5 separate regions of the Homo sapiens genome follow, and regions 1, 2, 3 and 4 are each linked to region 5. Evidence: promoter capture Hi-C in 16 types of primary human blood cells and fetal thymus (Javierre and others, 2016). All regions are on one chromosome and are shown on one strand. Each heading gives the region's core, a stretch centred on a gene start or on the middle of the fragment in contact. The rest is flanking DNA. Distances are from core to core; before and after follow the strand shown. Region 1 has its middle 42 kb from the start of ARFGEF2. Region 2 overlaps PREX1 (phosphatidylinositol-3,4,5-trisphosphate dependent Rac exchange factor 1). Region 3 holds the start of PREX1 (phosphatidylinositol-3,4,5-trisphosphate dependent Rac exchange factor 1). Region 4 overlaps PREX1 (phosphatidylinositol-3,4,5-trisphosphate dependent Rac exchange factor 1). Region 5 holds the start of ZMYND8 (zinc finger MYND-type containing 8).

What was found. Contacts are between HindIII fragments. The CHiCAGO score rates a contact against its expected background, and 5 or more counts as called.
Region 1: a fragment that was not itself captured here is called in contact with the fragment with the promoter of ZMYND8 in region 5 in 1 of 17 cell types (total CD8 T cells); the score reaches 6.0 in total CD8 T cells.
Region 2: a fragment that was not itself captured here is called in contact with the fragment with the promoter of ZMYND8 in region 5 in 8 of 17 cell types (naive CD8 T cells, activated CD4 T cells, naive B cells and 5 more); the score reaches 8.2 in naive CD8 T cells.
Region 3: a contact is called between the fragment with the promoter of PREX1 here and the fragment with the promoter of ZMYND8 in region 5, in 2 of 17 cell types (naive CD8 T cells and total B cells). The highest score is 10.0, in naive CD8 T cells.
Region 4: a fragment that was not itself captured here is called in contact with the fragment with the promoter of ZMYND8 in region 5 in 1 of 17 cell types (total B cells); the score reaches 6.8 in total B cells.

The regions. Positions count from the first base shown.
Region 1 is chr20:48,877,388-48,882,795 of GRCh38, reverse strand. It overlaps a transcript of PREX1 not described here. Among named protein-coding and RNA genes, the nearest start is that of ARFGEF2, 42 kb to the left of the region's middle. The HindIII fragment of the contact is 1,045 bases long and covers 743-1,787 here.
Region 2 is chr20:48,620,399-48,625,662 of GRCh38, reverse strand. It overlaps PREX1 (phosphatidylinositol-3,4,5-trisphosphate dependent Rac exchange factor 1), which reads left to right. Exons shown (of 40, transcript NM_020820.4): 40 at 1-1,411. Among named protein-coding and RNA genes, the nearest start is that of PREX1, 200 kb to the left of the region's middle. RefSeq lists an enhancer at 4,620-4,679 and a silencer at 4,980-5,109. The HindIII fragment of the contact is 2,496 bases long and covers 2,273-4,768 here.
Region 3 is chr20:48,824,912-48,829,768 of GRCh38, reverse strand. It overlaps PREX1 (phosphatidylinositol-3,4,5-trisphosphate dependent Rac exchange factor 1), which reads left to right and starts at 1,770. Exons shown (of 40, transcript NM_020820.4): 1 at 1,770-2,127. The coding sequence starts at 1,909. RefSeq lists silencers at 1,117-1,796, 2,207-2,276. The HindIII fragment of the contact is 7,694 bases long and covers 1-4,857 here.
Region 4 is chr20:48,724,534-48,730,077 of GRCh38, reverse strand. PREX1 (phosphatidylinositol-3,4,5-trisphosphate dependent Rac exchange factor 1) reads left to right here. Exons shown (of 40, transcript NM_020820.4): 5 at 3,687-3,788. Among named protein-coding and RNA genes, the nearest start is that of PREX1, 100 kb to the left of the region's middle. The HindIII fragment of the contact is 1,901 bases long and covers 3,319-5,219 here.
Region 5 is chr20:47,353,591-47,358,839 of GRCh38, reverse strand. It overlaps ZMYND8 (zinc finger MYND-type containing 8), which reads left to right and starts at 2,141. Exons shown (of 23, transcript NM_001281775.3): 1 at 2,141-2,183. The coding sequence starts at 2,170. It overlaps LOC101927377 (a long non-coding RNA gene), which reads right to left. Exons shown (of 2, transcript NR_134501.1): 2 at 4,207-5,249. RefSeq lists a cis regulatory region at 1-34 and enhancers at 496-1,101, 781-1,130, 1,881-2,175, 1,710-2,317, 2,161-2,330 and 3 more. The HindIII fragment of the contact is 2,834 bases long and covers 1-2,479 here.

The DNA.
Region 1 (5,408 bases), core at 16-2,515, 1.5 Mb before region 5:
AATACCAGTCCACACCCACTAGTGAGGATAAAATAAAAGACAGATAATAACAAGTGTCAGTGAGGCTGTGGAGAAGTTGCAGTCCTTATATATTGCTGGCAAAAATGTAAGATACCACAGCCACTTTGGAAAACAGTTTGGCAGTTCCTCAAAATATTAAGCATAGAATTGCCATTTAACCCAGCAATTCTACTCCTAGGTATATATACCCCAGAGACACAAAAATATACATACACATAGAAACTTCATAGAAACATGAAGATTCTCTCTTTTTTTTTTTTTTTTTTTTTTTTTGAGACGGAGTCTCACTGTGTTGCCCAGGCTTGAGTGCAGTGGCGCGATCTCGGCTCATTGCAAGCTCCACCTCCTGGGTTCACGCCATTCTCCTGCCTCAACCTCCCGAGTAGCTGGGACTACAGGCGCCCGCCACCACACCCGGCTAATTTTTTGTATTTTTAGTAGAGACGGGGTTTCACCGTGTTAGCCAGGATGGTCTTGATCTCCTGACCTCGTGATCCGCCTGCCTCCGCCTCCCAAAGTGCTGGGATTACAGGCGTGAGCCACCGCGCCCAGCAACATGAAGATTCTTAACAACATAATTCATAATACCCCAAACCTGGAAGCAATGCAAATGTCCATCAATTGATGGTTGTCTAAACAAAATGTATATCAAAATAATGGAATATTCTTTAGCTGTAAAAAGTTATAAAGAACTGATACATGCTGTAGCATGGATGAAGCTTGAAGACATCATGTTAAGTGGAAGAAGCTCGTCATAAAAAACATATTGTATGATGATCTGTATGATATATACAGAATAGGGGAGTGCATAGAGACAGAAAGTAGATTAGTAGTTGTCTAGGGCTGGGGGTGGGGGTGGGGAAAGGAGCATGGGTAGAGATGGGGATGGGGTTTCTTTTGAGAGTGATGAAAACATTCCGAAATTAGATTGTAGTGATGGTTGCACAACTACAAGAAACCATTGAATTGCACACTTAAAGATGAATTGTAGGCCAGGTGCTGTGGCTTACGCCTGTAATCCCAGCACTTTGGGAGGGCAAGGTGGGCAGATCATAAAGTCAGGCGTTTGAGACCAGCCCGGCCAATAGGGTGAAACCCCGTCTCTACTAAAAGTACAAAAATTAGCTGGGCGTCGTGGCAGGTGCCTGTAGACCCAGCTACTCAGGAGGCTGAGGCAGGAGAATCCCTTGAACCCGGAAGGCAGAGGTTGTAGTGAGCTGAGATCGTACCATTGCACTCCAGCCTGGGTGACAGAGTGAGACCCTGTCTCAAAAAAAAAAAAAAAATGAATTGTATGTAAATTCTATCTCAATAAAACTGTTAAAAATAAGTTAATAAATAAGGACAGTAGATACAAAGGCCAAAAATATGAGGGAGGAGTTATGATAAAAACCACCTGTCAATTGAACTTAAAAGCAAGTTTATTAAAAGGAGCATTTTAAAAAGCAATTGTTGGAAAGGATTTATTGCTGGGTTTAAATTCTTTTTTTATTATGGAAAAATGTTAAATGTACACCACAGTAAAGGGAAACATATAACAAAGCAGTCTCCATCACCCAGTCCAACAATTATCAACTCATGGCCCATCTGGTTTTCGCTATACTCCTACCCACTCCCCCACGCTGAATATTTGAAGCAAGTCCCAGAATCATGTTGTTTCATTATTGCAGAAATATTGTGAGGATATCGTCCACATGTCCCATGTCTTCCTCACAAAGACCTGTGGGTAGAGTTGCTTTTTAATCTCTGTATTGAGAAAAGAAGCTTTTTTTTTTTTTTTTTTTTTTTTTTTTAGCAATGGTTTGCTCTCTTTGCTTAGATATTACACTTAGTATTTAGTCATAGATTCCCCTTCTGCTATCATTACTAGGATTCTCAGAGACAATTTGGCAGCTGGACACCTTAAAGGTCCTTATAGTAGGCAGTTTTGTGAACCAGCTAAATGTCTCGCTTTATTTCATTTTCTTACCTGTGGCAGAAATGACTAGTGGCCTATGTATTATCCATTTGCCCTTCTTTCCTAGTAAATAAGCCCTGAACTTTATTTGGGGTGGCATCAGGCACAACTAAGAGATTACATTTCTCAGCCTCCTTTGTAGCTAGGACTACATTCTGGCCAATTATATGTAAGCTGAAGTTTTGGGCTGGAACTTCCAAAATGATCCTTAAAGAAAACTGGGATTACAGGATTTTTTCATTTCCTTCTTCTTGCTGCCCGAAATGTGGCTGCAATAGCTGGAGCTCCTGCAGTCATCCTGCAGCACGAGGTGGACTTTAGGATGGAGGCCACATTCTAAGGATAGTGAGGCAGGATGATAGAAAGAGATCGTATCCTCAATTTTGTGGAGCTACCACATCAGCTCTGGGTTTCCTCTCTCTAGATTTCATTTGTGTAAGAGAAAAATAAACATCTGTGGTGTTTATGCCACTGTTATTCCTGGTCTCTCTTACCAGCAGCTGAACACAATACCAATCGGATATACTACTCCTTATTTTTCCTTCTCCTTGACCACCTCATGTATTGATTTCAAGGTGTATATATTTGTATAAACCACTTTGAGTCCTTTGTGGACTTAGAGTCAAAATGAATAATTTATTAAACTACAGCATTACACAATTGAGCACATGGGTTCTTATTTCAAAGAACAGCAACAGAAAACATTTGCAGACAAAAAGTTAAACTGTGTCTTGTGATTCACAAAACTGAAGTTTGAATCAGGAAGGAAATCCATGGCTTATTACCAGAAAGATGGGCACCACATGGAAATTCAATTTCCAGCAGAGTGAGTTTTTAACATTTGAAAAGCTGAACAAAAATGGACCATATGTCCCACCATGGAGGAAGAGTTAGGCCAGCCATAGTGTATTAAAACAAAGGAATATCAGATTGCAACTAGGAATGACAAATATGACCATGATGTAGAAATAAGGGTAGAGGCTCTGTAAAGTAACAGGAAGGGGAAAGATAGGACTTGGCCTGGTGCCCATGCCTGCTTTGTCACCACTGTGCATAATTATGTCTCTGGCATTTTTAGGATCAGAAGAGGTTACATAGTTATCAATAATTGGTGATTTGGAGGGGAGTAAGGGTCTTATTTCATGGAGCTGTTGATAATTTAGTGTTTCCATTTAATGCAGGCATATTGACGAGTTGACAGATGTACCCAGAGGTGATATTAAAAATATGTAGCATGAATGAGACGCTAATCATAAACAGAATACAGGAGGCCCTGCTAGACCTGGTGTTAACCTTTTAGGTGCTAGATAGTAGAATGAGCTAGAGGATTCCAACAGACGAGTTGGGTGCATTCTGGAGAGCCACAGAGCATGTGGGAGATTCAGAACAGTACTGTTTATCAACTATTATGAATGTATTTCAGTATTTAAATAACCAGTATAACTACACTGGTCCCAAGTGAATACCAGCTTTGATTATAGATAAGTTTAAACATTTTTTTCTTAGGTAAAGAACGTAAAAGGGAAAACAGATTTAAATATGTGTATGGAAGATGAAACTGCAAAATAATAATGACTTTTTCTTTTGGAGCACGTATTGTACTAAACACTTCATGTAATTCACCATCTCATTTAATCCTCGCAATAGCAGCCCTTCAAAATGGTCTCTTGGTTACAAGTGACTACAACCCAAGTCACAATGGCTTGAGCAAAGAAGGGTACCTACTACAATATGTAACTGAAAAGTCTAGTGGGATTCAGGCATGGCTGAATCCAGGGGCTCAAAGATGTCACCGGAACTCAGTTTTCCTCTTCCTGCTTCACCGCTCTGCTTTCCCTGGCACTGATTTTACTCACAAGTGAGTTTTCTCTCCAGCGGGTGGCTTGGGAGCCTCAATACTTCCATTATCCTTCTAATAATATCAACATACAGAAAGCTTTTCATTTCTAATCATCCCAATAAAGGTTCAGGATTGAATCTCATTAGATTGAGTTGGGTCACATGCCCATCCCTGAACCACATGCTATGAGTGGTTCTGGAATGCTGTTGGATGTTCTGATTGGCCAGGCCTAAGTCACACGTCCATCTCTGGATCTGGGATAGGTCAACACTTCCTAAAACACATGGAAGGAAGGTGTGGTAGGGCAGATGCCAGAGAGTTGCCAGAAAAAGGGGAATGTGGCCGGGCGCGGTGGCTCATGCCTATAATCCCAGCACTTTGGGAGGCTGAGGCGGATGGATCACAAGGTCAGTAGATCAAGACCATCCTGGCTAACACAGTGAAACCCATCACTACTAAAAATACAAAAAATTAACTGGGTGTGGTGGCACGTGCCTGTAATCCCAGCTACTCGGGAGGCTGAGGCAGGAGAATCGTTTGAACCAGGGAGGTGGAGGTTTCAGTGAGCCGAGATCGTGCCACTGCACTCCAGCCTAGGCAACAGAGTGAGACTCCATCTCAAAAAAAAAGAAAAAGGGGAATTCTGGGCAAAGTATCAGGTGTCTACTAGAAGAGGTCTCATTTTATTAGCAAAGAAAATGAGGCTACTGCATGTATACTTTTTGTGGCTATGCAAGGAGAGCAGCCTGGCTGGAGCAGAGTGAACGAAGGGGAGACTAGGAGGTCAGTGAATAACTGGGGTTGGGGCAGGGTGCATGTTGGGTAGGGCCTTGTGGGCTATTGTAAGAACTTGGGCTTTTTTTGTGTGTGAGACAGAGTCTCACTCTGTTGCCCAGGCTGGAGTGCAGTGGTGTGATCTGAGCTCACTGCAACCTCCGCTTCCTGGGTTCAAGCGATTATCCTGCCTCAGCCTTCCAAGTAGCTGGGATTATAGGCATACACCACCATGCCCGGCTAATTTTTGTATTTTTAGTAGAGATGGAGCTTCGCCATGTTGGCCAGGCTGGTCTCAAACTCCTGATCTCAGGTGATCCGCCCGCCTCAGCCTCCCAAAGTGCTGGGATTATAGGCGTGAGCCACCACGCCTGGCTCAGAACTTGGGCTTTTGTTCTGAAGAACTTGGGCTTTTGTTCTGAGTGAGGAGCTTTTAGAGCAGAGGAGTCAAATGATTTGTTGTAGGTTTTAAAAAGGATCACTCTAGTTGCTCTATTGTTCAAATGTAAAATGTTTTATTGCTGTCTCTAATCTTTCGTATTTATTAATGTAACAAATATGAAATGGACATGGGGCCTACACCAGGCCAATCAGTGTAGCCCATTTCCCTGCCCAGTGATTGTATCAGAGATCAGCATGTGACCCACACTGATCCAGCTAGAGCCAGTTTAAGCATTTCTATTACTATTGGGAGAAAAGAAACCCAACTGGTGTTGCTAAGCTATTTTGCCACTGAGAGCCACCACTGAGTTAGAATCTAACTGAGGCTGGCACAAAGAGTGCAGAAAAAAGTGCTGAGGGAAAAGAAAGTCTGAT
Region 2 (5,264 bases), core at 2,271-4,770, 1.3 Mb before region 5:
CTGCCAGAAGCTGGAGGGGTGCTGGAGACCCATAGAGCTGATGGGAGCAGCTGGTGCCTGGCCTTCGGCTCCTGCGTCCCCAGAACCCAAGGGAACGTCATGGAGGCCACATGGGGCCACCCGGCTCCCTCGGGATGGCTCCGCCTGCACTTTTGAAACCCCGGTTTCCTTCAACGTCCACATTCCAGGTGACCACACGTGTCTCCTCCTCCTCATCTTAGCTTCCAGGTTCACCCTAACCCTGTACTAACCTGCTTGGTGGACTTGGAAAAGACTTGGCTCTGTCGGGAAAGGAGAGACGGGGCCTCCATCACGCCTGTTACCAGAGGATCCCCGAGAGCCACACCAGCTCTGGACATCACCGCCCCTGGAACTGGGGCCACCAGCCCTGGGCACGAGATTTGCTCTGACTTTATTTATATGGCATGAAATCTCTGGTTTATTTTGGGATTTTTTGTTGTTGGTGTTGTCAAAGTTTGTTTTTTCTAAAGTTGTGTGATTATATATTTGACATTTTACATTTCAAAGAAAGGTATGTTGTCTAACAGGGGACCAACAGAAGGTAGTATTGACAACTGTTCCTGCTTCTACTAAAAAAAAAAGAGCACAAAAGAAAAACTAAATTATTGAAAAATTAAAAAATGTCATTGTTTCCTGTTTGTTAATATTAGGGTTGTAAGGTGTCGTTTTGAGGTATCGACTGTGATTCCTTCCCCCACCCTCCATTCTCCAGCGGTTGGCCGGTGTTAGAACTCGCTCTCTTTGAGTGACTGGCTACAAGGGCCTGAGAGGTGGCCAGCCAGGGTTGGAGCTGGAGGGGATGGAGCCCCACCTGAGGTGCCGTGTCACACGGGTTAGAGGGTCACTGGGAAACACCGGGCGGTGGCTTCTGTGATTTATTTTCTTGATGGTAACTTCTCAGAGCAGGGCGATTGGGACATCACCAGCCAGAGCACAGGAAGCCACCCTGCCTGCTGGGGAGGAGGGACCCACACAAGCCCCCTCGGCAGTTTGTCCCCCCAGCTTCGGTATGCCTTCAGGGAAAGGTCACAGCTGGGGAGGAAGCGGGGGGACGCCTGTCACCCCTGGCAGGTGGTGAGTTCAGGTGGGGGCTCCCTGCTGCCCCCAGGCCTGGGAGCTTGAAGCCCTCCCGGCATCTGGCATCCGAGCCTCCCGCCCTCCAGGGTGCGCTTCCCTCTCTTGCCGCAGCATACACGAGGGCAGGCAGTGGCCTTGTCACTGTATCTTGCATCAGAGACAAAGGAGGACCCGCTTTAGCCCTGCTGCGGGAAATGGGGGAGGGCCCAGGGCCAGCGCATTGTGCACTGGTTTACTTTAAAATGTACAGATTCTTCTCGTTAAATTCTTGATAGATTTTTTATTATTATTAAAAGTCAGTTTATAATACAAAGAACGAGGCTGTGATCTGCTTCATCTGCGGTGGGTGGCTTGGGGGGTGGGTGCGGCCGGGGGCACTAGGGGATGAGCTCGCGCTTTAAAAGCCTCATGGAGGACAGTGCTGATCTCTGCATCGGGGCCTTGAACCAGCGACCCCGAAGTCAGTGATGTTTTCACTCTGTGCCTCAGTTTCCTCCTTGATAATGGGGCGATGCAGCTTCTCTCGCGGGGTGATTGCTGAGGACGACCCGAGGTTGCACGGATTGCCTGCAACCCAGGTATACAGGAAAATAACAGGCCTTATTTGATATTTCAGCTTTTTTCCCCCCTGGATTCTGAGCTCCCATTTCACTGTGAAGGTAGGAAAAAGTGACTGTTTTCCCAGGAATTCCACACCTCCTCCTGGGTGGCTTACTTGTGCTGAGGGGACAGTGTGGATCCAAGGGGTGCCATAGAATCCTCCTCGCTCCAACCTGCAAGGCCTGTTGGATCCAGGCGGGAGTGGAGTTCAAAATACCCACAACATGGTCGTGCCGGACCCCCAGTCAGCCAGAACTTACGCTGGCCACAAACAGGCCTATTGGGCAGACGTGAAATGCACCAATGAGAATAGAGAGTCTGCGTGCACACCTGGGCCTGGTGGCTGCATCCTAGGCTGTCAGCAGGTTCTCCACCTGCCTGGGCCCAGGTGATCTTTATGAAGCTGCCTGGGTTTGTTTGCATAGTCAGAGAAACCTCATTCCCTGGGCTGCAGACCTGTTCTGCTGTGCCAGCCCTGTGCCCCCTCGTCCTTTTTTTTTTTTTTTGAGACAGGGTCTTTTGCTCTTATCACCCAGGGTAGAGTGCAGTGGCGCGATCATGACTCACTTAAGCTTCGACCTCCTGGGCTCAATTTATCCTCCCACCTCAGCATCCCAAGTAACTGCAACTACAGGCACGTGCCACCACGCCTGGCTAATTTGTTAAATTTTTTGTGGAGACCAGGTTTCAGTATGCTGCCTACCAAGTAGCCTGGACTACAGGCACACACCACCATGCCTGGCTAATTTTTAAAAATTTTTATAGAGACCGGGTTTCGGTATGTTGCGTATGGCCTCTTCTTTATTCCATCTTTTCCCGATTTCCAATCCTTTGGAAAATGCTGAAATCGATGACAGTTTCCTCTGGGTCATGGCCACCCTTGGGACTCCCCTGTACCATGGTGCTGCACCCAGCCCTGCCATTTCACACTCGAGCCCCTTCTCTTTCAGTCTCTTTTCCTTCCAAACTAACCTGTTGCAGATTACATTCTCTGAAGGCCCAGATTGGATCCCTCCCAGAGAGAGATCCTCGCGTCTCTCAGTTACAGGTTTCAAAGGACTCAATACTCTAACAGGCAAGAGGGAATCCTGGTGGGGTTTCAGGCACAGTCATGGATTGATTATTTAGAATTATCTGAGGCCAGTGTTTGGATCCAGGGAAAATCACTTCGAGGGAAGACCTGTTACCTCAATCTATATTTGAGGTCAACAGGGAGGATTGGACGTCTTCCTTCAGGCAGACACGTTTCTAGAAAGCATCGATTTCAGCCTCTCCTCCACCCTGGGGGCCCGCAGAAGGAACATACATTCTCCTGGGGCCGTAGGCAGGAGCAGCTTGGGTTTCCAGCCGGCTCTCTGTGGCCTTGAGCAAGTTGCATACTTTACAGGCTCAGAGCTGTGCTTGCAGAGTTGGGAGGGAGAGCCGGGCCCACCTCCCTCTCCGAGATGTGTTTCTCCAAGTATAAAACTAAGCACGAAGGGCCTCTCAGAGCAAGCGGACATTTTTGCAGGAGACAAGAGGTCTCAAACTGATGGCTCCAGGCTGAAACTTGGAACTAAATGTGGGTTTTTTTTTTTACTTCCTTCCTGATATGGTGTTTTAAAAAAATGAATTATATTTATGAACCAGCAAATTTCATCTCTGAATTCTGATTTTTAGTTTGTCTCGAAAATCAGAAGCTCTGAGCTGGGTGTGGTGGTGCGCACCTGTGGTCCCAGCTACTTGGAGGCAAAGGTGGGAGGATTGCTTGAGACCAGGAGTTCAAGGCTGTCGTGCGCTTTGATCACACCTGTGAATAGCCAACTGCACTCCAGCCTGGGCAACGTAGTGTGGTCCTGCCTCTTAAAAAAAAGATTAAAGAAAAAATCAGAAGCTCTGGTCACACTGGTCCACATTCCCACCTGGCTACATGTCAGCTGGAGCTGAGGAGCGGCTGTCTTCTTGAGGAGGGTGCCAGCTCTCCAGCTCCCCGGAGCCACGTGGTCCGAGCACTCATCCGGCCTGCTCACGCTGACGGCCAGATCCTTAGCTCTGGACTTGCCATGGCGATGTCAGCTCGGGGAGGACCTGGTGACCCGGAGTCACTGTGCCGTCCAATGGAGAATCAAGGGGCAGGCGCAGCCCCGCATTGACGTCTCTCGGAGCCTCTCCTTCTCTGCTCCTCCAGGATGAGGGCAGGGCCCAGGTGGTTGAATTCCTCTGAGCCTCAGTTTTTTCATCTGTCAAAAGGTGCTGACCCAGAGATGGCCCCTTGGCGTGGACTGCAACAGAGGCCACCCAGGAAGTGGAAGGTACGATGGGGTGTGTTGACCGCTTTATGATTTTATCTAAATAACTGTTGGTGTACTTCCTGTCCACCTTCCCCCCAGCAGTAAGAGCAGGAACCACACCCCTTCCATACTGTAGCCCAGGGCCAGACAGTGGTGAATCACGGCTAAATATTAATAGAAGAAAGCAGGGTTAGCACAGTGATCAGAGCGGGGGGCGCAAGCCACACCCATCTGTGGCCAAGCGGGCCCCTCTAACCTCTGTGTCTGCCACGTGGGTTCATTCATGGGGGGCTGGACTAGGACCTTTGAAGTCAGACACCCTCGCCTGCTCCTGAATCTGTCAACACCTGATACTTGCTGAGTGGCCATATCTGAGATTCTCTGTCTTTCTGGGACCCTCAGCTTCCTTCTTTGAGAAATGGAGACTTTACGCCCACCTGGCTGCCTTGCGGGGGTACCAGGAGTCTCCTCCAGGGCCCCAAAGTGGAACTTCCCGGGATAAGTGTAGTGCCCTGTCTGTCCAGCAGGTGGTGCTGGGGACCGCGTAGTGCCCAGAGGCTGCTGTTCCCCGGGCTCCAGCACTCAGACCGAAGGCTGGCTCCTGGGTGCAGGTATTTGGGACAGAGCCAGCCTGGAGGCGGGGCCTGGAATCGTCTGGACAATGGGCACTGGCGCTATCCCTCTCCTGGGCTGGGCTTGCCGTGAATATTTTCTCTTTTTTTCTCTCTTTTTAAAAACTTTTTAAAATTTGTCTCTTTCTTACTTTCGTCCCCCTCATTTTCTTTCTCTCTCTCTAAGCTTTTCTATATTTGTCTTTGTCCCATAACATATGTCTGTGAGCTTGACTCGATTTTTCAATTCTTTCCTTTCGGGGATCTTTCCCTTCTCTCTTTTCTCTTTTTTCCCTTCCTCTCTTCTGATTGGAGGAGAAGGATATGAAAGGCCCTTATGCACTGTAAAGCGGGGTGCTTACGAAGCTTGTGACCAGAAACCCACAGTCACTGGTGCACCTTTGTGGAAGTGACGGCCACTAGATGGCGCTGTGGGCCAGGGCGCCCCGCCTAGCCTTGCGGGCCTCCTGCCCAGAGCTCCTGGGAGGCTCCCACTGCAAGCCTGGAGCTCGGGGTTTGCAGGCAGGGGAGGCCGAAAGCCAAGCCTGAAGCTGCCTCCCTCCGGGCACTGGTAGCGTTCCCTGGAGGGCTGGAGTGGGGCAGGGGTGGTTAGGAGAGGGATGCTAAGGAAATGCCTCCGCTGCCAGCGCCTTCACCAGCTGCACCTCCCATTATTGCAGCCAAA
Region 3 (4,857 bases), core at 521-3,020, 1.5 Mb before region 5:
TCCAGCCATGTTCTCCCCTCGTGGTAGACAGAATTAATTTAAAGATGAGGAAACGGAGGCTCAGAAAGGTACCGTGAACAGTTTAAAGTCACAAAGCAGAGATACTCCAGAGGCCTTTATTAGGAATAAAAATATAAATAAAAAACCAGCTACCTTTGGACACAATTGACTCCACTACCCAAGCGTGACAGGCTCACCTATCTCATGTCCTTTACTCCCTGCCCAGGGGAACTTCACTCAGCCCAAGGCCCAGATCAAATGCTACCTTGCCCATGATCCCAAAGAAAGAAGTCAGAGAGGGCAGAAGCCACCCCATTCTCTCCCTGTGTCCTTAGGCACTTACAGTATTGAGAGGCCAATGGGAGGAAAATCCTAGGCTTTTGGAACAGGAATAAATAAGCAATGTTTCTGTCCATAAAATGACTACAGTCTAGAGGCGGATACTATGTGGATCACTTTATCCCCTGCAGAGACGATACAATCTCTGGTCCGGAAACACGGGTGATTAGGGATTGTATGGGCCATTTGAGAGTGGGGCCAGGCTTAGAGGGCCGTTCACACATGCAATAATAGTAAGAACAAACATTTACAGAGAACTTTCTAGGTGTTGGGCTTCACACATGCAATAATAGTAAGAACAAACATTTACAGAGAACTTTCTAGGTGCTAAGTACTTCCCATGGAACCCCGGGGAGGACCTTGGAGCTAGGTACCATGATCGTTCCCGTTATACTGATGAAAACACTGAGGATCTTGAAGCAAGGAAACCAGCCCAAGGCCACCCGGCCAGCAAGTGGGGAGCTAGGATTTGAACCTGAGCAGCTGACTCTAGGCCCCAGAACTTCCTCCCCTCTCCATACCTTCCGATAAGGCGGGTGATGATCAACATTGCCCAGAGCAACCTGACAAGAAGCTGGGTTTCCCAAGGCCTTATCCCATGGGGTGGGTGGATGGAAGGGGGAGCAGGCAGGGTACCTGCCACTTGATCAATAACTCAAGAGCAGGTAATAATTTCTTCTGGGAAAGGTGGAAAGGGCAGGGTCAGGGGGCAAAGAAGTTCAGAAAGAAAAGGAAGGAAGGAAAGAGAGAGATGGGAAAGGAAACGGGAAAGAGAAAAGTGAGAGCGAGCGCGCGCCACGCATGTTCCTTCCCAAGGTCGTGGTAGCACCGAGGGCACCGCGAGGGCCCGGCGTTCCCGGGAGGGGCCGTCACTGCCCAGAGAGGGGCCGTCACTGCCCAGGCAGCGGTCGCCCCTGACTTCCCGGGGCCGCGGAGGCGCGCGTGGCGGGGCTGGCTTGCCCCCGAGCGGCTCCGCAGCGAGCTTTCCCAGCCCGGTGTTTACTTGGCCCGAGCAGCGGCCGGACCTGCAAGCAGGAGCCTGCGCGCGGCGGGTGTCGCGTGTGCCGGGTGGGAGTGGCGTAGCCCGCGGTGACTGCGGGTTGGGGGGGCGCCACGCGTCCGGGCGCGGAGTTGGTACGCTCGGTTCGGCGTGCGCGCGGCCTCGGACTCCCGGCTCCGCGGGGCCCTTCCGGAGGCTCCCGCCCGACCCCCGAGCTTCCGACGGAGGCGCCGAGCGCCGCGCCGCGTCCCCAGGGGCCCCGTGCACGCGCAGAGCGCCTCTGCGGCCGAGCGCGGCGTGGCACTTGGCAGACGGTCCCTGGCGCGGGGGCGGGGGGCCAGCCGTCTGGGAGCCCCGAGGGCCGCCCCCTCCCGCCCCTCGCCCGGCCCCCGCGCGCTGCCTCCGCCCCCGGCCCAGCCGCCCGGCCCCCAGTCCCGCCCGCCGCGCCGGGAGCCCGGCCCGCCGCTGAGCCCGGCCCGCCGGCGCGCCCCGTCCGGGATGGGGCGCCTGGACGCCTGAGTTGCCGCTCGGCGCGACGGAAGGAGCCGGCGCCGCGCGGCCGCGCTAGAATGGAGGCGCCCAGCGGCAGCGAGCCCGGCGGCGACGGGGCCGGGGACTGCGCCCACCCGGACCCCCGGGCCCCTGGCGCCGCGGCGCCCAGCTCCGGCCCCGGCCCGTGCGCGGCCGCCCGGGAGTCCGAGCGCCAGCTGCGCCTCCGCCTCTGCGTCCTCAACGAGATCTTGGGCACCGAGAGGGACTACGTGGGCACCTTGCGCTTCTTGCAGTCGGTGAGTGTCGCTCGGGAGCTTGGGGACAGCTTTCCCTCCAGCCGCTCGCCCCGCTGCGGTCCCCACAACCTGTGGCCGTGGTCCCCGTGGGTGGAGAATTGCCTCGGGGGCGCCCCGCAGGGCGCGCGGAAAGCGGGGGGGATCCGAGCTCCTCCAGAGCTGTCGCGTCGCCTCCCTCCCTGGCCGGCGCACGGTCCTGCTCCGACCGGGGCTCTCCCGCACTCCACTTCCCCGCGGCGCGCGCTGCCCTTTTGTCTTTTCTTCCCCGTCCCCGCCTTTCAAATAGTTTTAAAATTAGTTACATCCGCGATGCAGGGGCTTGGGGACCCCGGCGGCGCCGGGAGCTGGCGCTCCTGCGTCTTTTTCCCAGGAATAACTACGCGCCCGGTGCACCACTCATCTAGGACATACCGTAGGAGCCCCAGAGCCCAACGTCCCTGCGCGTTGATGGAGTAGGATAAAACCTGAAGCTCAGAGGAGGGGCGGGGATTGACAGAACCCCAGGGTAGAATCCCCCATGCACAGGTTTTTGCTGGAGTTCGGGGAGAGTGGGTTTCGAACTCAAAACTCGGCAGTCCAGGCTCCCTAACTGCATCCACCCCCACCAACTCCCCATCTCCAAGTGCAAAACCACGGCCTCAGACTTTGTAAAATAACAACCGACCACTTACTATGTGCCAGACACCTTACATGTGTCATTAATTAGCAGGTTTAACCTTCACAGGCGGTCTATGAAGTAGGGACGAGTATTTCCCCCATTTTTAATTAAAAAAATTTTTTTTTGAGACGGAGTCTCCCTCAGTCACCCAGGCTGGAGTACAGTGGCGCAATCTCGGTTCACTGCAACCTCCGCCTCCCGGGTTCAAGCAATTCTCTTGCCTCAGCCTCCCGAGTAGCTGGGATTACAGGCACGCGCCAGCCACCACGGCCGACTAATTTTTGTATTTTTATCAGAGAGGGGATTTCACCATGTTGGCCATGCTGGTCTTGGACTCCTGGCCTCAAGTGATCCGCCGACCTCGGCCTCCAAAGTGCAGGGATTACAGGCGTGAGCTACTGGGTCCTGCCTCCTCCGTTTTTAAGATTGGGAAAGTTTAGCTCCAGAGGGGCCGGGTAGCTTGTCTGGGATCGCACAGCTGATTAAGTGGGGGTACTGGGCTTTGAACCGGGACTATCCCAGCTGGTGTTCTAAACCCCTATTCTATGCTGCATTTTTCTTTTGCTTTTTTTCTGTGAGAGGGAGGAAGGGGCCACTTCCCTACTCTCCTAGGAAGTGAGAAAAGTGGCCAGCGGGTGGAGGGGGTGGGACGGGGCAGAGCCTTGGATGGAAGTTAGGAGACTCTAAAGTCTTTAATCTCCATGCCTCCTGCTGGGGCCTCATTTACTCCCCTTCTCTGCTCTAGGAAGTCTTTTAATCCTGGTTCAGGAAGGGCTGGTGTGGGGGTGGCTCTTTCAAAGACCCTAGAGCCAGGCTTTGTAGCTCCTAGTCTTTGGGAGAAAGAGGGAGACTCTGGGGTCCTCTGGGGCTCCTCATGGCTTAGGGGTGCAGCTGAGGCTGTGTGAGATCAGAGTTCCAGCTCAGGGAGGAGACAGCCTTAGACTAGAGCCCTTCTGCCTGTGAAAGGAGATGTACTGGGGGCAGGGGGATGTGGGAGAGGGGGTTGTGCAGAAGCATTGAAAACCATTTGGCTAAAGGACCCTTCTAGGAAGGCCTGTAAGAATAAGGCAGGATTGGCTTTCTTTCCCATCCCTTCTTCTCTCACAGTTTCGGGGGTGGGGGGTGGGGGAAGAATTTGTTCTGTTAGAAGCTGGCAGTTTTTGAATTAAACATGTAGACAACCCTGGTGTCTCTGAGCAATGTCAAATTCTAGGGAACTCCTGACTTCTCCTTCTGAGCCACTCCATGCTCCTCTGCTTGGAAGAGAAACAGGAAATACAAACCAATTTTGATATTAATGGGAAAGAAAATATACCTCTCCCTCCCACGCCCCTGCCCTAGATGGTGTGTTTCATTTTAGAACAGATCTAGATTGTGTTTGAGTTAACTGTGGTTTTAAATCGTCCACGTGTAGAGTAGGAGGAAGCTGGAATAATGGAAATTGATTGGAGCCAACCATTCTTATTATTCAAGAAACAGGAAAAAAAAAGATTTCTCTACTTTCACATTATCTCCTTAACACTTTACATTTGCTGACTTCATCACATTTTTCTTTTTGTATCTGATGTGTCAGTTCTGAGATGAATTGGTTCTGACTTGGACATGTGTCTTGGACCAATCATGCTACGTGTCCTGACCTCAGTTTCCCCACCTGTGAAACAAGGAGCGGGGAATCCGGGCTTCCTTTCTGCCTGGGCCTTTTGTGTGTCCCCAAGCTGGTGCCAGAAACAGACGGATTGTGTAACCTGACCAGCCATACGTTGTTTGTGAGCCACAGGAGTCCTCTCTCATCTTGGCCCGTCAGGAATGGCCCCTAAACATCCCAAGGCATTTTCGTTTTCAAAACTAACCTGGGGCTTAGAGCTTCAGGAACTGCTAATTACCAAGGCTTTCCATGGTTGCAAGGCTGGCAGCCTCAGGTTGTGATTCTCTTCTGTCTTCCCACTCTCTCTTCTCAGCCTTTATATTTGCTAAGGGATTTTCCCTGCTGTCTCCTGGCTTGGAAGAATGCACGGTAATCCCTCCCTGCTTTTATTTCCATGTGGTTAGAGGCAGGCCTTAAAGGACCACCC
Region 4 (5,544 bases), core at 3,020-5,519, 1.4 Mb before region 5:
TCCTGGGGCTCCAGGGAAGGATCCTGTCTTTCCTCTTTAATCTTCCAGCGGCCGTCGGTGCTCCCTGGCTTGTGGCAGCATTGCTCCAATCTCTGCCTCTGTCTTCACATGGCCTTCTTTGGTGTCTTCTCCCCTCATAAGGACATGAGTCATTGGATTTAGGGTCCCCCCTCTAATCCAGCATCACCTTATTTTAACTAATTACCATACATCTGTAAAGATCCAATTTCCAAATAAGGTTGCATTTTGAGGTTTTGTGGGGGCCTGGCATTTTGGGGAACACCATTCAACCGACTGCAGGGCTACTGCAATGTCCGGGCAGGAAGCGATGGTGTCTGCGAACAGCGTGGTTGTGGTGGGAGAGGTGGTTGGATTCACATAGAGCATGAGGGCCTGAGCTGACACAATTTGCCTGATCATTGACTTTGGATATAAATGAACGAGAGGAGTCAAATATGACTTTAGGGTTTTGGGCCCAAGCAACTGGAAGAATGGAGTTGCATTTTCCCAAGAGGGTGCAGGCTAGGGTAGGAGAGGGAAATAAACATTCCCTTTTGGATGTGTGAGGCTTAAGATACCTGCAGTACATCCAGGTGGGGCATTGGGGGGGCAGCAGAGACTCTAGTCGGGAGTTTAGGGGCTAGAGAGATAAACCTGAGTGTTTTCAATATAAAGAAAGATGGTGTTTAAAGCCAAGTCAGGGCCAGGCACGGTGGCTCACACCTGTAATCCTAGCACTTTAGGAGGCCGAGGCAGGCAGATCACCTGAGGTCAGGAGTTCAAGACCAGCCTAGATGACATGGCAAAACCCTGTCTCTACTAAAAATACAAAAATTAGCTGGGCATGGTGGTGTGCACCTGTAATCCCAGCTACTCAGGAGACTGAGGCAGGAGAATCACTTGAACCTAGGAGGCAGAGGTTGCAGTGAGCCGAGATTGCACACTGCACTCCAGCCTGGGCGACAGAATGAGATTCTGTCCAGGAAAAAAAAGAAAAAAAAGCCGAGTCAGGGTGGGATCAGCCAGGGGGGCAGCATGGGCAGAAAGGGAGGACTCAGGATAGTCCAGGAACGTGCTGCCATTAGGAGGTTGGGAAGACCATGAGGTTGACGCCTCATCTAACTCACTTCTGTGAATTTTGAGCATTTAAGGACTTCTCAGAAGTTCTTCCCATAGTGCCTGAAATGTAGTGAGAATAGTGAATGCTAGCTCTGTGTGTGTTTGCCTGTTTTTTTTGTTTTTGTTTTTTTTTAAAAGAAAATAAAGTGAAACCACAATCTAGAGTGTTTGTGGGGAAGTGTCCTTGGTGGCTGTGAAAATCTTGTGAAAACTCCTTGATCCTGGACAAAGATGGGCCCTTCTCACGCCAAGCCCTGGGGGCTTCTAGAAAGCACTTCCCCACCCCCAGGCGCCCTGCACTCTGCCCAGAGCTGACATCACCAGGGCAGCCTGTGGCAAGTGCTGGCTCCTAGGACAAAGGCCTGAGTGTGAGCAGCGTGGGGCCCGGCATCTCCCAGCTGCCGCAGCCTCAATCCCCCATCTGTGCCAGGGGTAAACACTGGTGGGGGCCATTCAGCTCAGCTAGAGCTGGGACCTGGGGTCCCCAGAATTCTGCTTTTCCAGGCAGAGCTTATTGTGATCCCTAAGAGGCAGTGGAAGTAGCTCTGAGACTTGGGCCAGCTCTTCGTGCCACGATTTCCCCATGTGTGGTAGGGGACAGTGGTCCATGCTTATTTCCTTAGGCTTTCGGCATGAACTTTCTGTGTATGTGAAGCACAAGGCACAGCGTGTGGCATATGGTGGGCACATGGTATGTGTTCTTATGGTCTTATTTTCACTTGAATATAAGCAGGGAATTTGTTTTGTTGGGCAGCCCCCCAGTGCTTGGAACTGTGCACAGCACACAGCACACAGCACACAATGTGTATTTGTTGAATGAATGAATAAATGATAGGATGGGAATCCCTTTTCCCAAGAGTCTGGATTCATTTCCAGTTTGCCAGGGTGGTGTTGAGGAGGAATGGCTGGATGTGCTGGTGGGTGGTTCCTTCATTAGTTAGTTGGTTAGTTCATTCACTTACACATAATGGGCACATAGTGAGCCTGAGGGACCCAGGACTGTGAAGGGCATGGCAGGGAAACACAGCAGAACTCATGGTTCCTGCCAAACAAAAATGGATTCTTAAGTTGGAGCCTCTCTGAAGGAGAGGGTAGTGCCTGTAATGTGATTGAGAGCCACGTGGAACAAATGGCCACCTATGAAGGCTCTAGGAGGAAGAAGTCCTGGGAATTGAGAGCAGGTTGGGTGGCAGGGATGGCCTTGGTGCATGGGTGGGCTTGGGGTAAGGGCACATGGGCATCATGGTTTCAATCCCAGACTCGGTGTCAACCCGCCTGGCTCTAGGTCCCAGCTCTGTGACTCACTTTTCTGGGATGGTCTTGGAGTAAAAGACTAAACCTCTCACACCCCAGGGATCTAAGCTGTGAGATGAGAATAATCATAGTTTTCAGTTGATAGGGTGGTTGGTGGTTGGGAGCCCTAGAGGCCTGCTGGACACATGATTAGCTCTTGGTCAGTGTTTACGATGGATGATAGCAGTATTATTATTATTATTATTTTTATTGGGGAAGAGAATACATTCCAGAGAAGAGGCATGGAATGAGCCGAGAGAGGCAAGGGGGCTGCAGGGCGGAAGTATTGACATGGAGAACACTGGGTTGATTCATGTGGACAGGAGCTTAGGGCTGAGCGTGGGAGTTAGGGTAACGGTATTCCATTCCTAAGAGAGCTGTACTTTTTAACTCTGCAAGCCAAAATAGAGGTATGCATATGACAGAATCACGTACACTCCTCCCAGCTAAAGAACTAGGACATTTTCAGTAACAGTTGAAGGTTCTTGGTTCACTTTCCAACCCAAAACTCTCCCTCCACAGAGGGAACCCCCACTGGAATTGGGTGCATTCCTTTAACACGCATGTCTTTATATTTGACCTCATACATGCTCTCCATAAACAGCGCATAGTTTTATGTGCCATGTCTTTAAAAGATCTCTGTAAGTGGCTTCATACTGTACATATCCTTCTTTCTTTTGCACAAGAGTACATTTTTGGGGTTCGCCCGTGTTGCTACGTGTGGCCCTGGTTATCTCATTTTAACTGCTGCATAGCTAGCTACCATTGTATAAATCTGCTGCAAACAGACTGAAACAAAAATACAGATGTTTCCATTCTCAGGTGATGGATATTTAGGTCGCGTCCCATTTTTTACTGTTGTAAGCAAGGCATTTTTGAGTCTCCTGGTGTGTATATGTGAAAGCTTCTCTAGACCAGGAATGGGTGAATTTTTCTGTAAAAGGCCAGATAGTCAATATTTTAAGTTTTGCCACTATATGGCCTTTTTTTCCCCAACAACTCAGCTCTGCCGTTGTAGCTTGTAGGGGGCCACAGCCAATGTGATGGATGTGGCTGTGTTTCTAATAAAACTTACCAAAATGGGGAGTAGGCAAGATTTGGCCCAGTAGGGTTTGTGTTGGTTGTAGATGATGCACGTTTTCACTTCTACGGGTCGCTAAATCGCTTGCCAAGTGATTGTAGCTGTGCTCTGAGAGCGTTTCTCATGGTTGAGGGTGGCTATGTCCCTGTGCTATCCTTGGTGGGTTTCATGAAGGTCTCCTGTCCCTTTGCAGAGCTGCATGCTTCTGGGAGGCCGGAAGACCACGGACATCCCTTTGGAAGGCTACCTGTTGTCTCCGATCCAGAGGATCTGCAAGTACCCGCTCCTCCTTAAGGTGAGACTTTCCCGTATTTGAAGTGACAGAAAACTCTTTGGCTTCAGCATAACATAAAATTTGTTAGTTCAAGTATCTGAGAAGTCTAGCAGCAGTGTCAGCTTTGGGCCGGGCTGGATTTAAACCAGGACCCTGCCTCTTTCTCTCTCGTTCACCCTGCTTTCCACCATTCAGGCTTATTTTCAGTGTGGCAGCAGGTGGCTGTGGTTCTCCTGGCCTCACATCCTCTCAAGTTTAAGGTCAGTGGGAAAGAGTGAACCTCTCTACTAAGAGCTGAGGAAAGTCCTGAGATTCATTCTGTCTTTGGCTATCTGCAGCCAGGGGAAGGTCATATGCCAAATGGTTTGGGCCTGAGTCATGCGCTTTGACCTGGACAAATTACATGAAGCCTTTGCATGTACCATTTATCATCCTCCAGTCAGCTTAGACCCGTGCTTTACCCCTGAACCAATCACTATTGCTGTGCTCTGATTAGCTGAGACATGGTCTCACTCCACTCTGATCCAATGACAGTGAGCAGGGCAGTGTTGTGTTCTGATTGGCTGAGACCTGGGTCAGGTGCTGCACTCCTGAACCAATCATTTTGAGCAAGGGAATTCTAATTGGCTCAGACTTGGGTCATGTGCTCCAACCTTGAACCAATCACTAGGTCCCACAGGCCATGAGTGAGGACAGATGAACCCCACGTGACCAAAGTCTGAGCTGTTTGTGGAAGGCAGGGTGAGGGCAGGCATAGGTGTTGGCTGGGCAAATGCAGCCTTCCATACACCTGCTGTTTCCTTCCCTGCCGCCAGCCCTGGCTTTGTCTTGGCTGGGCAAAGCAGGGAAGGTTTGCTGCTTCTGTGGGGATGGAGAAGTCTTGATTCTAGGCTTCAGCCTGGCTGCTGGACAGATCCTGAGCCCAGGGGACGGCTCTTCCGCCTTCCACTGCTCTCAGCCCAGGGTTTCAGCCCTTGGAAATGGCTGAACAAAATGGCTATTGGCCGGAGCCTGTCCTGGCTCTGTCCTGAAGGCAGCTGTGTTTTAGGTTCCCTGTGGGGGGATTAATTTGGCTGGTGGGGCCTCATTCACGCACCTGCTCACAGGGGTTTGTGTATTTTTGCTCCATGAACTGGAAGCAAAAGGGGAGGGGAAGGGTACCAGGGCATTCTTCATCTTGGTTTTCTGCTGGAGAAGGTGGGTGATGCTGGAGCCTCTGAACTGGGCCAGACCCTGGGGCCATCAGCTCTGCCCACGAACACAGGACTTTGCTGTGCGCAGCCGTGGGGGTGGGACGCAGCTCTCCCATGCCTCCTCTGGTCTGCTCCTGCTGTTGATCTCTCCCAGCAATCTCGAAAGGAACTTCAGCACTTGTTGTTGCCATGGCTTCGATCCCTAGATAGGTCTTAGAAATGCTGTAGCTCAGGTCTTCACCTGGTTGTGGAAGAAGCTTCAGGTGAAACTTATAAACTGGTAGCCTGTGGACCAAATCGGGCCTGCAGATGTGCTTTGTGTGATCTGTGTGATGTGTCTTTCGAACTTGGATTAGCTACCAGCATTAAGAGACAGTGTACTGTAGTGGTTAGAGACAGGGTGGGCAAAACTGTGGCCTCTGGGCCAAATATAGCCCATGGCCTGTTTTTATACAGCCTATGAGCTAAGAATGATGTTTACTCTTTTTTTTAAAAGCTTTGTTAAACGAACAAGCAAAACCCCAGAAGAATATGTAGCAGAGAGTGGATGTAGCCAGCAGAGCCTAAAATATTTACCATCTGGC
Region 5 (5,249 bases), core at 892-3,391:
GAGCTGTCCCTCCCTGCAGCTTGGCCTCAGCAGCCTAAAACAGTAACAACAGCAACATCCTGTCCGTTTTTATAAAGCCTGGGTCCTGCCCTGCCGTACAGTGAGTTTCGATTCCCAGCTCGTTCCTGAGCCTGTTTGATATGAGATTCCCGGCCAGGAAGAATTTATGTACAAGCAGTGGGCATCTGTTGTCCATGTGGGGGTTGGGGGGGGGCAGGGAAAGCAAGCCATCAGCTCTTCGTTTTCTTTGTGGGAACCGTGTGGGACAAGAAAGCCCACAAGTCCTAATTTTAGGAGGAGAGGGGAGACTTTATTGCTCCGGAGTTATGCCTCCTGGCATATGGCTGCGTTAACTCTGGACGCTTTCTCCAGCCTCTAAAGAATGGTGTTTATTTAGCTTCTGTGGTTCCAGGTTGCTGTTTTAAAAAATCCTGTTAATTAAGCACCTTGTCATTTAAAATGCCGAAGAAGGAAAGAGAGCGAGAAAGCTGGGGACATTTTACGGTCCTTTTCTATCTCTGGGTACAGACCAACTGCGAAGGCAGCTTTAGGGAGGAGACCAGCAAAGACCTCCTAACGCAATTGAAGTGGGTAGAATTGTAAGCAGCTCTGAACAACCAGTTAATATTTTACTGGGGAGCGGTGCCAGAGATGGGGGGGTGGGGGGGCTGCCAAATGGAGGGCTGTGTGTGAAATCGCTGCTCCATCTGCCTTGGGGGACGAAAAGAAGCCGTTCTCTGTGCAAATAAATGGAAGCAAGAATCCTTAGGAAGCCCAGGGGATTTGTCTGCCCACCGAGGAGGGCCCAACTCCCCCAGGCACACACATACAGGGATGATTGTGGCAGGAAGGGCTGACCTACGGGGGTAGGCCTGACGCATAATGGGGGCTCTTGTTTCCGGGCTGAGCGTGCCATCTTTCTGTCTCCCTCTGGATTGAAATGGCTTCTCAGCCCGAGAGGCACTGCCTGTGCCCTGGATTCACAAGGTACACGCCTCCCTGGGAAGCAAAGGCTGAGAGACAGCGGCTCTCTCTCTCTCTTTCTGCATCTGCCGGGAGAGCTGCAGCTGGTATTTTTCCACAGGCCTTCGCTGCGATCTCAAGGCCTAGTTTTTCCCAGCCAGGCCCCGAGTCCGAGAGAGGGTTAACAGGCAGGAAGCCGAAGGCATCGCAGGCTAATACGGAAGTCAGATTTGTGTTTAACTGACAGGTTTAGCAGGTCTCGGCCGCGGGGGAGGGGCCGGGAGGGAAGGGAAGTTTGTAGATCCAGGCATGTGGCCTGCGAGGAGGGCTTTGGGTTTTTCTTAGGGTAAGGACCGAGAGGGGTCCCCCTTGGCATCGTGGCAGGGCGACAGGAACCCACGTTGATTTTGCCTGCAGGACTGGCTAAGCAGGGCGCGAGAGGCCCACGGCTCCCTGGCCTGCCTTGCAAGGAGGCATGGGGACAATGACTATGCAAACTTGACCACTCTGCTCCCCTCCTCCCCTCAGCAGCTACTCCTCGCTCCTCTGAGAAGCCAGGGCTGCTCTCTGCTGATTTTTCGGGGCTCCCCCGGGCTGCCTGCTTCCCCCAGCTTCTCAGAGGCCTGCCTCAAGCCCCTTTTTCTGGCCCCTTGGCTGTTTCCCCGGGACTCCCCACTCCCCAGCTTCCCCTTCCCCTTGGAGAGCCACCCTGCTGGACTGTTCTAGAAAAAGGCTGGCCTTCCTCCCTGGACAAGGGCCGTTTCTCTGGGGGCAGGTGAGGGTGAGCCGTTCCAGCCCACTCCAAGAAACTCCCTTCCCAGGGACCTCCGGGCCTCAGGCTTTCCTGGAGCAGGTCAGGCTGGCTGCCCTGGCTGGCCCGTGCCGGGAAATCTAGCCAGGGTGCAGGAGAAGTGCGTGTGGGGGCCCCTTTCCCAAGTTTTTCTTGCTGCAAAAGGCCTAGCTTAGCCTGTCTTTTTCTATGCACAGGATGGCTCTTGCTCACCCGAGCCTCACAAAGATAATCGCTCAGGAAGTGTTTCAGCCAATCCGGGGCGGCTTTACACTCCGATTTGCCGGGGCAGCCAATCGGGGATGAGCTTTTATTAGGCGGCCAGATCATCAGCCGAAGTGCCAAACCCTTTTTCTGTGAGAACTAGGAGCCTGTCCTCCATGTTTTATAAGTATTGACATTACACAGTGTTAACAATGCATCCACAGAGGTAAGCTCGACTTTTTAACCATCTTTTTTCCCCCTCCCTCTGAGACATCCGAATTGTGGGCGAGCAGTGTGATTTCTCTGTGGCTGGCCGTGCCACACTCACCCCCAGAGCACTTATGTTAACTTGGAACTGTTTAGAGAGAATTTTTTTGCTTTCTTGGGTCACATGGCTCAGTAGCCATTAGCCATAGCTTGATTTTGCAAACTGGCAAGGGCCTGGCACACCTTTCCTTCCACCAGGGCATGGTGTTTCTGGAAGAGTTTGAAGCTAGATCCTGGTATGCCAAAAAAGAAGCTTTTTTTTTTCCTTCTTTTTTTTTTTTTCTTTCCCTCTTCCCTCTCTCTTCCCCTCTCTCTCTCTCTGAGCAGTTCCCCCCCTCCCACCCCTGCACTATTGTCTTCTCTTTTGCCACATGCCCTGCTGGGGGAAGAAAATGGAAGGTAAGCAAACAGGCTCCTCTCCAAGGAGAGCTCATGGCAGACAGCAGAGCAGGCAAGTTTGCCTCTCCAAAGAGGTTCTGGGAAGGCTGGATAAGTTTTGACAAGAGAGGAGCGTGTTTGCAAAAGAATTGTGCCCTCAGCAGAGCAGTGCTAAGGAGAGTCTAGCTCCTGGGGCCTAGGTGGGTGGTGGTGTCTGTACACGGTCTTCTCTTATTCTACAGAGCTTCTGCACTTGAAACTACATTGTTCAGCCTGTTTTCCTGACTTAGGTTGCTACAGAGTGTTCTGCAAGCCAGCCTACAGCCAGCAAATGTTTCTGAAAGTGTTTTCTAGGCTTTGGAGGAAGTTTTTTGGAGTAGGGATGGGGACTGGGGGGTGGGGGGAGAGATCTTGGACAACATCCTGCAAAAAAAAAAAAAAAAAAAAATCTGCAAGGATTCTGAATCCCTTAGCTTTCTACTCTTGCATGATTTTCAAGGAACTAATGTTACCTTTTATCCTTGTTTTCATTTTCCTGTCCCTTTTATACATTGTATCCTCCTCTCTTCTCCTGTGTCATGGAGTGTAGAGGAAATAAAATCATGTCTGTGGCTCATGACAGCATTCCATATTCAGTTGTTGGGTTGTGTTGTTGTTGTTGTGTGTGTTTTTAATAATACCATGTAACTGTTTAAAAAAATTTCCTTTTTGATCAAGTCCCAAATCTGCCAGCCTGTTCTCTCTTCCTAACTGTGGAAAAATGAGACGGTTGCTTGAACATTTGTTGGGTAAGTAAAGCAATCCATTTCCTCTGTGACCATGTTTGAAGAGTTTTGCGAACATTTGGGGTCTGTTTGTAATAGTGGGTCTTGGCTACAGGAGTTGGGGGCTTCATTAGCAGGAACAAAATAAGGGCTTTTTAAAGAGTGTCTTGATTTTAGGTGACTGTTTGAATCCACTGTTTTTCCTGATAACCTGCAGCTAGGATTGAAGATTATACTTCCTGTTTACCCTGAGTCAGGGGAGAAATGTTCAGTTCATTGTGACTTGACTCTAGACCTTTAATGGGGTTTGTTTGGATATTCAAACTGTGAGTAGGTGATGTGCTTGTGAAATGTCATGAAACTGCTTGTTCTTAGAGGTGCAGAGCCCTAAAAACATTGGTGGTGTAGAAGCTGGTGGTGGTGGTGGTATGTGTGTGTTGGGGGGGTGGTGTCAGTGTGCTCATGTTTTAGGACTTATGTATAGTGCAAAATCTCATCTACCACCAGACTGGGTTTGATTCAGGACTCACTGACCAACACATTTTGGCCTTTTTTCAGGTCTCCTCCACACATCTGTATGCATGCTGGCCCCACATAAGATTTCTCACTTTTTACATTTCCCTTGACCACTTAAGGCTGCAGCTAGAAGTTAAGTGGGAAAAGTAGAGTCTTGTTTAGCAGTACCTTCAGAATTTCCCTAGAAGTTCAGTACATAAATTTTCAGCTTGGAGACCAATCCGACATGACCGTAAATGCAGGAAATATATTCAATTGCTGTGTTATGTCAACTTTATGGAGTCAGTAATCTTTTTTCTTTCAAATGAGTGTCCAGTAGCCCACTTTCTGACACCGAATTGGAAAAAGGCTCATTTAATCAGCAGAAACGTACCACATTCTAAGTTGAGAAAAGTCTGTGCAAGGCAGGCCAGCTTAGCTTCTTAGAGTAAAACTGCAGGCAGTTAATGATGTTATATACTTAAAACTGAACAGTGCCACTGCCCCAAACAAGTAAGTTCAGACACTCAGCTATTTTCTTTGTTCTTATCTCCTTGCTGTAAATGGAAATTACATATCGAGGTTCTTGTGGCCTCCCTAGAAGCAATATCTAATCATAAGACTCCTGGTTTGGTGCCTTCAACGTTTGCATAATACTGTGTTTGTTGGGCTGGAAGGGAACTTAAGGGCAAGGCATTTGTCCTCTAAAAGCTTGCATTAAAATGGCTCCCACAGGTTTGGAGAGCCAAGATCTGTTTTCAAATGTACAGCCCCCAGCAAGTTCCCAACCCTGGACCAAGCTAGCCACTTTTCCTCTGGTACTGTGACCCCTACCAAGCATGAGTCTGTAAAAAGTTAATTGCTTTCAAAGTAGCATTATTTTCCAGTTTCAGGAAAGGGGGAAAAAAATAAATGTCTGCATTGCAGCAGGACTAGGTAGGGACGGCAGTACTGGCTCCCAGAGCAGCCCAATGGGGTTCTTCTACTCTAGCTTTTAAACCAATAGACTTGGAGGAAAGGTTAAAGATTGACAATTGCAGTGGCCGAACTAAGAACGGGCCTTCTGGAAATTTCTACCATCTTTGTTCCTTTTAGGAAAAGCAGATCTGCCAAGCAGAAGCGTCTCCTACCTTCCATTCCTAGGTCATCTCCCTTCCCTGCTTCCCCCCAACCCCCCTTCTTTTTCTCATCAAGGTAGAATGTTCTCTCTGCCACGTTTGTAAATTGCAGAAGGAGGAACAGAATGTTGGGCTGTTTTCCTTTTTCCTTCTGCCTCCTCAGTCCCCAAAGAGGATACACAGCTGCAAGGAGCAAACACAGACACACTGAAGCTTTTGATTCCTCTCCTTTTTTTTCCTTCAAGACCCTCCAGGATGGATTCACTTTCT